Linked DNA regions of Homo sapiens: region 2 is linked to region 1. The links are contacts of gene promoters, found by promoter capture Hi-C in blood cells and fetal thymus (Javierre and others, 2016). All regions are on one chromosome and are shown on one strand. The core of a region is centred on a gene start or on the middle of the fragment in contact, and the rest is flanking DNA. Distances in the headings are between cores, read along the strand shown.

What was found. The method cuts DNA at HindIII sites, captures the fragments that hold promoters and counts their contacts. A CHiCAGO score of 5 or more calls a contact.
Region 2: a fragment that was not itself captured here is called in contact with the fragment with the promoter of EPHA3 in region 1 in 1 of 17 cell types (megakaryocytes); the score reaches 6.9 in megakaryocytes.

The regions. Positions count from the first base shown.
Region 1 is chr3:89,105,267-89,110,535 of GRCh38, forward strand. It overlaps EPHA3 (EPH receptor A3), which reads left to right and starts at 2,355. Exons shown (of 17, transcript NM_005233.6): 1 at 2,355-2,570. The coding sequence starts at 2,483. RefSeq lists an enhancer at 2,197-2,336. The HindIII fragment of the contact is 3,372 bases long and covers 1-3,202 here.
Region 2 is chr3:88,638,689-88,643,627 of GRCh38, forward strand. No RefSeq gene overlaps it. Among named protein-coding and RNA genes, the nearest start is that of CSNK2A2IP, 300 kb to the left of the region's middle. The HindIII fragment of the contact is 3,058 bases long and covers 2,067-4,939 here.

The sequences.
Region 1 (5,269 bases), core at 1,105-3,604:
CTACTTGCTGAAATGCTTTTGATGTCTCTCTTTAGTTTAAAATATATTGTAAAATCATTGACATGTGGCATCGAAATCTCTGTAGTTTTCAACCAGTCCTTTGAAGAATATTTCCCTACATTTTGTCTCCAATCCATACCTCCTCCTATTCCGGCCCTTTACCTACCACAAATACTCTAATATACTCTGTATTCCATATGTGCCAAATGCTTTCATTTTTGGCTCACTTGGACACTCTCTGGACTTGCCTGCCTGCAGTTCCTTCTGAATCATTTTCTTACTAGTGAACTCCTACCCATCCTTCAAGCTGCAACTCAACTACCACTTTCTTAATAAGGGCTTCCCTGCATCTGCTGCCCCCACCTCATCCTTTCCACTCCTGCTATGGTTGCTCTTCTCTGCTTATTGGCATCACTCCCTTTTCCCCATCTGTCCAGAATGGCGCCTACATAATGGAAACCTTTTACTTTTCACTAGAGAGTTGACAATTTAGAGATTCTATATCATTTACATTCTATTTTCAGGCCAGGTATTGCTTTGTACTCATTTTGCCACTCCTGTAGCTTTCTGCAAACATGAATGCCTTTTTTCCCAGTGACAAGCAGTTTTTAAGTTTTCAAGTGTGAAAAGAGAAATAGCATGAGGGGCGCCAATGGATCTGCGTGTCAGCACATTGGCAGATTCTCCAAAATGTTTTCAAATTGTCAATTCCAAATAAGATTTTAGTTTCTTTCAAGTTTCAGAAAACGTGTATCTAACTTTGGAACAATGTAAGTGTTGTGCTGGAACTTTGAAAAAACACCAGAGTCACCACTGTCTAAGTTCTCTGGGCAGTATCTGCTATTATTTTCAATTCTGACAGACTTGGCACTTGAGGATTGCGCAGCCTCTGGTGACACAATGTGGAAAGAAGTTAGAGACACAAAGTAACATGGCATACACAGAAAAGTGAGAAGGATCTCTCTTTTCCCCTGGCTGCTTCTATCCACCCCAATTCCCCACCCCAGTCATCAAACTATTATCTGGCACCATTAACTTAAATTCAAGTGAAAATTGTGTTCTCTAACTAAAAACATTGAGTTTGTGGACTGAATACATTATTAGCAAGGGCTTTTCAAACTTTCATTTAAGTTTCATTATCAAGAGCTCTAAAATTGATCACTGATCTTAAGATTATCAACATACCTTTATTTTCTGAAGTTGTGAGAGGAATATAATAATCTTGTTTTCTTTTTAGTATAAGAAGAGATAGATGGGCGGAAGGATATCTGAGTAACCATTTTCTGGGAGATATTTTAAAGATAAGTGATGCTGGTTATTAAAATATAAATTACAAAATTGTTTGGCTGAACTAGATTGCAATAGGTTGTTCAGCAATGGGATTGGAAATAACAGAGACCATTGATAGTCATGGTGTAAAATAAGTGAGAAAGTACGAGGACATTATTATTTAGCTTTTGGATTTGGAATGTTAAAGAATAAGAATACCCCAATATTATTAGACTATCAGTGGTTGAAAGTTGAATGGAGGAGCTGTGAATTATGCATTGTTTCTCTTGCAGAACCCAGAGATCCTAATGTGAGATGGTGAGGGAGGGGGATATGTATTATTAAGAAATTTAGGTTTGATCTGTATTACTTTTACAACACAGAACGAGAAAAGAATGTAGACCTCCGGCTGGGGTTAGACTTGCTCCCTTCCGTAAGATGATGAAGGTCAACTTCCCTGTTTGAAAAAAAACAAAGTATGCTCTATGTGCGCGGAAAATCACTGTGCCAGATCTAGTAAAAAGCCACGATACCATTGGGTGTGGAAATGCAGAGACCCTCTGATTCAGGCTGTGTATTAGTGTCTTTCTGAATCACAAAGAACTCATGGAGAGTTATGATCACATTGAACACAGTAAAGGAATAACTATAATCATTTTTTTCAATTATACAAACATGATTGACTTTTTAACGAAAGACTGCTATTCTTTCAAAACACACGTTTCTCTCGCATTTCAGTTCCTTTTGCACTCACATTGCCATATGATACTCCTATCAAGGCTGTGATTTCTTCGGTGAATTAAGCAACAGAGCATGGATAGCAAACAATAAAACAGCTACTTTTCATGCAACACAAAAGAGGGAGCATTTTTCTCAGCACCGCGGCCTCATCACATCTTCTGTGTTTCCTGTCCCATGGGCGACGCCCCCACTCCCACCCGGTCTCCTTCCCGAGCAGCTCTGGGCTGCAGAGCCAGCTGCGTGCCATCCCGCTCTGCTTCAGCGCACGCTGAAGACGGCACTAGGACCCAGGGAAGTCCCCGAGCGGGGTTCGCGGAAAGGCAGCCAGACTCCTCCTTATCTCCAGTGTCAAACTTGACATCAGCCTGCGAGCGGAGCATGGTAACTTCTCCAGCAATCAGAGCGCTCCCCCTCACATCAGTGGCATGCTTCATGGAGATATGCTCCTCTCACTGCCCTCTGCACCAGCAACATGGATTGTCAGCTCTCCATCCTCCTCCTTCTCAGCTGCTCTGTTCTCGACAGCTTCGGGGAACTGATTCCGCAGCCTTCCAATGAAGGTAAGCCAGGTACCGCGACGCACGGAGCTCTGCCCCGCGGGGCTCACGCTCTTCAAAGCACGTTCTCACCGAAGCCTTGCACGTCGGGAAGGTGCCTCCGAATAGAGCAGTTTGCTCTGAGAGTGAAGGAAAGATGTGCCTTTTTTTTTTCCAACTGTCTTCTAAAACACTTCAGGAGATAATTTTAGATGGTCTAAACTTTGAAAATGTGTTTTTAATCTGACACCATTTCGAGCAATTACCTTGTTTGCCAATTTGAGCAGAAAGAAAGAAAGAAAATCCTCCAGCGTTGCAACCCAGTTATGTTAATTGCCAAATAGCCAAGGCAGTATTTTATTTTCTAATTATGACCATGTGGTACTCCGAGAAGTTTGAAAGAAAATTCAGCCTTCCTCTCTAGACTCTTTAGTATGTTTAAAGGTAATGACAGGTTGTTCCTACTTGGGATCATGGCATTTATGAATGGACTAAAGGGAAATCAGAGTTTGTCGAAGCGGAGGTGCGTGTTTATGGTGCAAGGGCTGTGTTGAAGTTGTGTGTATCCCGCCAGGCAATGGTTTGCTCTATGGTACAGGTTCTAAAGAGCAGCATATGCCACATTAACGTAAGTAATATTTGCAAGAATTACAATAAGCTTAGGTTGGATTCTCTTTGTTTAAAGGCTTATATACAAATAGGAGAATGTATTTAATGAATAGTGGATAGCTCCTGGGAAGATATAGTAAATAACTGAATAGTAGATTAAGAGAGAATGTTCATATGCAGCAAATGGCATTTCCTTGATGTTGTGTTATTTATTATCCTTGTAATGAGCATTAATTCCTTTTCAGTGGGTTAAAGTGCAAACCTAATGTTAAGGACACCAATGTGTTCTATAAGATTGTGTACTTAATACATACATTTTCTTTCTCCTGTATTCCTTTTGTGATCTATTCTTGTGAATACAGTCACTAACTCGTAAAACAAACTTCTCTAAATAATTGATTAGTGTAAAGCCACACTTACAACATTAATTTCCTCTTAGTGATTTTGAACTTATAACAGTAACATTTAGCAATTTATTTTGCAAGTTAACAATACCGAGCAACTGATGTGCAAACATCATGTTATATACATCACTCCTTAGAAAATATATTGTCAAGCCAATACTGTTGTATATGTACCTTAATTTTAAAAACACGAGTAAAAACAAAATACTTAGAAAGTTTTTTATTAAATGTAATAACTGCCTGATACTCGGTGACCTACTTTCACTGCTAATAGAGCAGTAATTTATCTCCTTCCTTACTGACTGCCTTTATCAATTTGGCAGTTTTCATTAAATGTTCTGAATCTTTTTTCTAAATAAGAAAATGAAAATTCTAAAATATAAGGATCAAGAAAATTATCTTACCCACAAATGACTTTTTATTTTACAAACCAAATTAAAATGTTTATTTGAAAGTAAGAGTCAATCATTCTTCCTGAATGAAAGGTAAGAGTATTCATTTGTATAACGGGTAACATGTATAATAGGTAACATATCAATAAATTAAACTTAATGTTTTAAAAATTTTTGTTCTTTGCAGATATTAAAATATTGACAATAACTAGAAAAATAGTATTAAAATTCCCACATTGTCATGATAAATTATATTTTCCAGATAGAATGGTTATGAACTATGTAGATATGGATATTACTGAATTAATTATGCACAAGAATGTAGCTGTTAGTCAGTATTTTTGTGGAAAACAACCTTTAAGTAAACTGCAAGAGAAAAAAAAAGACACCAAACTATTTCACACCTATGTAAAATTAATCAGTATTAATTTAATGAAACAGAGTTAATCAAATACAAATTGCTTTTAAGCCTCACCTCATGTATGTTTGGGGATATAATGTATATAATTATACAGACAGGTACACATTAACCATATGGATATAGAAAGGTAAATATATTCAGAAAGCTGACATAATTGCATTTAATTTGCTTGGATGAAAGTTTATCCATCATTCATGGGATTATTCCTTCCAGATTGTGTCCTATGGGTAGTGTCTCTTTTCCTTCCTGTGATTGTGAAGGGAAGCTTTAAAACAAATTTAAGATGATTTAACTTAGGTAATACTTGAGTGAGATTTTAAATATTATCCATAGCTGGGCTCTCAGTTGAGTTGAATAACATGAAAAGTGAAAATGCCAAGTATGTGCCAAGATTTCCGTGCAATTTTTCTAACAATGTAATTTAAATAGAAAGCAATTCTTTTGAAAATGTATATATGAGAGGAGTGGTGATTTAAAAATGGTATTAATGTAGTTTTCTGATATAATTTTTTAATTTTGAAATATGAAATACTAGACTGTATTTAAAATATTATGATTGAAATATTTCAACACTGTAAAAAATTTATGAGAAATTTACTGAAACATATTTACTAGAATATATTCTTCAATCTGTTATGAAGTTAGGCATTTGAGAACCAAAGAGAACAAAACCAGGCCATTGACTTAATTGCTAGGACATTTGCAGTTGTGTGATGTGTTTTTTAATTTAAGATTTAATCATTAAACATCAATATTGAAATGCCATGGGTCCCTGATAAGAAAAATAACTTAGAAAATGTTTAATCTGAATTTTCCTTCTATTAATGTATTTACAAATATCTCTCTTATATGCTTTCAAGAAAATGACTCCAGGTGATAATAGGGACTCATCAACGA
Region 2 (4,939 bases), core at 2,346-4,845, 470 kb before region 1:
CTGAGTTCTAATTTGATCGCACTGTGGTCTGAGAGACTGTTTGTTATTATTGCAGTTCTTTTGCATTTGCTGAGGAGTGTTTTACTTCTGATTTTGTGGTCAATTTTAGAATAAGTGCCATGTGGCACTGAGAAGATGTATATTCTGTTGCTTTGAAGTATAAAGTTCTGTAGATGTCTAATAGGCCCACTTGATCCAGAGCTGAGTTCAAGTTCTGAATATCCTTGTTAAGTTTCTGTCTCATTGATCTGTCTAATACTGACAGTGGGTTGTTAAAGTCTCCCATTATTATAATGTGGGAGTCTAAGTCTCTTTGTAGGTCTCTAAGAACTTGTTTTATAAATCTGGGTCCTCCTGTATTGCGTGCATATATATTTAGAATAGTTAGCTCTTCTTGTTGAATTGTTCCATTTGCCATTATGTAATGCCTTTCTTTGTCTTTTTTGATCTCTGTTGGTTTAAAGTCTGTTTTGTCAGAGACTAGGATTGCAACCCCTGCTTTTCTTTGCTTTCCATTTGCTTGGTAAATTTTCCTCCATACCTTTACTTTGAGCCTTTGTGTGTCTTTGCATGTAAGATGGATCTCCTGAATACAGCACACCGATGGGTCTTGACTCCTTATCCAATTTGCCAGTTTGTGTCTTTTAGGTGGGGCATTTAGCACATTTACATTTAAGGTTAGTATTGTTATGTGTGAATTTTATCCTGTCATCATGATGCTAGCTGGTTATTTGATCCTATCATCATTATGCTAGCTGGTTATTTTGCACAATAGTTGATGCAGTTTCTTTATAGTGTCATTGGACTTTACATTTAGGTGTGTTTTTGCAGTGGCCTGTACCAGTATTTCCGCTCCATATTTACTGCTTCTTTCAGGATCTCTTGCAGGACAGGCCTGGTGGTAATGAAATCCCTCAGCATTTGCTTGTCTGGAAAGGGTTTTATTTCTCCTTTGCTTATGAAGCTTAGTTTGGCTGGATATGTAATTCTGTGTTGAAAATTCTTTTTTCAAAGAATGTTGAATATTGGCCCCCAGTCTATTCTGGCTTGTAGAATTTCTGCTGAGAGGTTTACTGTTATTCTGCTGAGCTTCTCTTTGAAGGTGACCTGATCTTTCTCTCTGGCTGCCCTTAACAGTTTTTCCTTTATTTCGACCTTGGAGAATCTGATGATTATGTGTCTCAGGGTTGATCTTCTCATGGAGTGTCTTAATGGTTCTCTGTATTTCCTGAATTTGAATGTTGGCCTGTCTTGCTCATTGGGGAAGTTCTCCTGCATCATATCCTGAAGTGTGTATTCCAGCTTGTTTTCATTCTCCCTGTCTCCTTCTGGTACTCCAATCAATTGTAGGTTTGGGCTTCTTATGAAGCCCCATACTTCTTGGAGGTTTTGTTCATTCCTTGTTATTATTTTTTCTCTATTCTTTTCTGCATGTCTTATTTCAGTAAGGTAGTCTTCCACGTGGTCGATTCAGCTGTTAATACTTGTGTATGCTTCACAAAGTTCTTGTGCTGTGTTTTTCAGCTCCATCAGGTCATTTATGTTCCTTTCTAAACTGGTTATTCTAGATAGCCATTCCTTGAACCTTTAATCAACATTCTTAGCTTCTTTGCATTGGGCTAGAACATACTTCTTTAGCTCATTATAGTTTTTAATTACCCAGCTTCTGAAGCTTATTTTTGTCAATTCATCCATCTGATCCTCCGTCCAGTTCTACGTCCTTGATGGAGAGATGTTGTGATCATTTGGAGGAGAAGAGACACTCTGGTCTTTTGGGTTTTCAGCATTCTTTTTGTTGATTCTTTCTCATCTTCGTGAGTTTGTCTAGTTTCAGTCTTTGTGCCTCTCACCCTGGGATGGGGTTTTTGTGGAGGCCTTTTTGTTGTTGTTGTTGTTGATGCTTTGTTGTCACTTTCTGCTTGTTTGTTTTTATTTCAATAGTGAGGTCCCTCTTTTGTAGGGCTGCTGGAGTTTGCAGGGGGTTCACTTCAGGCCCTATTCAAGTGATTCACTCCAGTGCCTGGAGATGAAGAGTGACACTTTCTAATGATCCTAACACAGCCAAAAGCTTTCCTTTAATAGGTACTTCCTTTGTTGTCTGTGGTTACTTTTGCTTTCATATGCTTGTACATTTGAATTCCAGTGCCACCTACTTCATGGTTGAAATCATGTACAACTTAGGAAATATAGTTGCAATTAGAATTGAACAATTGTTACAACGTTATAGAAACTGGAAATATTTACAATTTTATTATAGAGTAGAATTCCTGTGGCTGGGTAGCTTGTTACTAAAGCAATACAGTGAGTAGGGATTAAGAAGAGAGTTTAATTCGGAATGGGTTTGACTCTTGCCTTTGCATGTACTAGTTATGGAGGTTCAATAAGTTTCAGTTTTCTCATCCTTAAAGAGGGTGGTACAGTTATCAGTTTATTTACTCTTAATTCTAAATCCACCCCTCATGCTCAGCTTCCTGATTCTGGATCTGGACCCTGTGAACATTTTTCTTTTGCCATTGGAACAATGTTGGACTTCGCCAGGAGAAGGCAGTGAAGGGACACCAGAAGACATAAGCAGAAGGAAGGCTTTTGCTCCTGGTTCTGGTGTACTTTTCTTCTTACCTCTATGTCACAGCTGATTATCTTATGCGGGAGACCCAGTGACATTCCCCCTCCTATGAGTTTGCCAGCACCACAGGGTGTAGCTTTAGTGGCCCTACTCCCCAGACAAATTTAGCTCAGCTTTCTGATTACTAGCCCTGTCCTGCCTGCTGCTGGCCAGCTTTGATGCCAGGCACTGCAGGGAACTTCTCTGCTATCCAAGGGTCTGCAGCCACATCCTCTTCAAAGAGGTCTGAATCTTATCCTTCAGGTAGCCCTTTCCATGTGTGCTCTTTCAAAGCCCTATGGATCATAGCTACTTGACGACTTTGCTACTTGTGTAGCAAAAGTTCTTTTTAGAACTTTCTCTTACCTCTTGTAGTAATTAACTATGTTTTTCTAATTAATAATTCTTCCTATCTAGTTTTCTGCCTTTAAATTACTAATATGTTTTTGTGTTCTGAATAGATCTTGATCAATAAAGTGGGATAATAAAAATATGTCCCTTTTAGAGGTTGTTGAGAAGTTTAAATAAAGCAATATACGAAGTGCTCAACAAATCCTAGCTATAATTATTATTGAATGCTTTTTATAATGATTTAGCAAATTCTAAAGAATGAAATGTTTTCTTCACATGTTAGACCATTTTTTTTTATTTAGAATTATCCCTCTTCCCTTCTCAGTGATCTGGGTTTAGTTGTGTGGCAAGATAATGTTTGAAATGTGTAGCTATCTAACCACCCACAAGGCTGATCTGACAGACCTGGGCAAGGCCTATAGCTTTGATGGAAAATATAGGAATTATTTACATTTTCTTTATTTGCATTTGACTAGATTATTACATAGTTTATTCCTAAAATGGTTTTTTGATTTGTTTTGTTTCAGAAGCATTTTCAACATGTTTAACATTCTTACTACAGAAAAAACCTCTTAAAATTTTTTTTTTTCCAAATGAAGAAAAGTAAGAGAGGTGGGTTATGTTATAAAATTCAGAAATTTTACTCTGCTATTTTATAAATAGTTAAACGGGATTATCCATCTATATAATAATTAATTTTCCACTTACTGTTTTGTATAAACCCAGTAAGAATTCATTCATTCAAAACACAAAATGCTAACTGTGATTTCACTTGTTTGGAGCAGAAGGCCACATTCAAAATGCTGTTTCAGGAATACATTTTCATTTCTGAAAGTGGTAATATATTTTGTTTTAATTTTCATGTTGTGTACCCATACATAAAATTAGGAGAAATTTAATCAGCTACAAATACCACCACAAAGAAGCCTGGGAACTTGGGTACCGGTAATTGGAATTGCTGTTCAACTGCAAATTGCTCACTTGATGAAGGTTTTATTCATGGCCCTTTTCTTTATACATTTCAAAACAATACTTGAAGTTCAATTTATTTTACTGATGTATACAATTTTTTATATAGAAAAATAGAAAATTGGTGGAAAGGATAAAAGTTATGCCTACTGGGAGGCACACACACAAGTTTCCTTTAATAGGAAGAACTGTATCTGAAGTGGGGTAGAGAATCGATAATCAAGAAAGCCAAGATGTTAATAAAAACCAAGTTGTATAAAGCCAACTTTATACAACCAAGTTGTATAAAGCCAGAAAATAGATGTCACAAAATGGTATCCTATTTTTAAGGTGGTGTTAGAAAGAGGGTATTTACAACAATATGGGGAGGGTGCAGAGAAATCACAAAGGATAATGCCATACCCAGAAGGCTATTATCAGCATATCTGTTACCACTTCGAAGCCAGGGAAGAATTTGTATGGGGAAGTGCCAGCTACAGAAACCTAGAATGAGAGGACAGTATAGAGGAGGCTTCCTTGAGGGAAGCATTGACCATCAGTTGAAGGACTGAAACAGTACAAGGTGATCCCACAGAGATGGAACTGCAGGAATAAACTCCATGATCTCATCCTCTCACCCTCTGATCACCTGCAGAATCTCCCCTTGGTTTAAATCAATGGGAAACCAGCAGAGTTTAAGGGAGACTATTGATGTATTTCAACAAAGTCAGCCTACCGGGACAAAGAACAGAATGGGGAATAATGGGGAATGGATTTGAAGGAACAAACAAAAGATATCTAGCAAACTATTTTAACATAAAAATAAAATTTTAACCACCTCATGTGACATGACAAGAAACAGGAAACCATAAGGATATAGAATAAAACCTAGACAAAAATAAGCATAGGCTGATTCTTTTAACACTTCTTACCACTTGAAACTTGATAGCCTACTTTTTAAAGCCAAGTGTTATATAGTGTATAAACTAAATTAAAAGACAAAGAGAAGATGAAATTAAAAAAAACTGTTGAGTA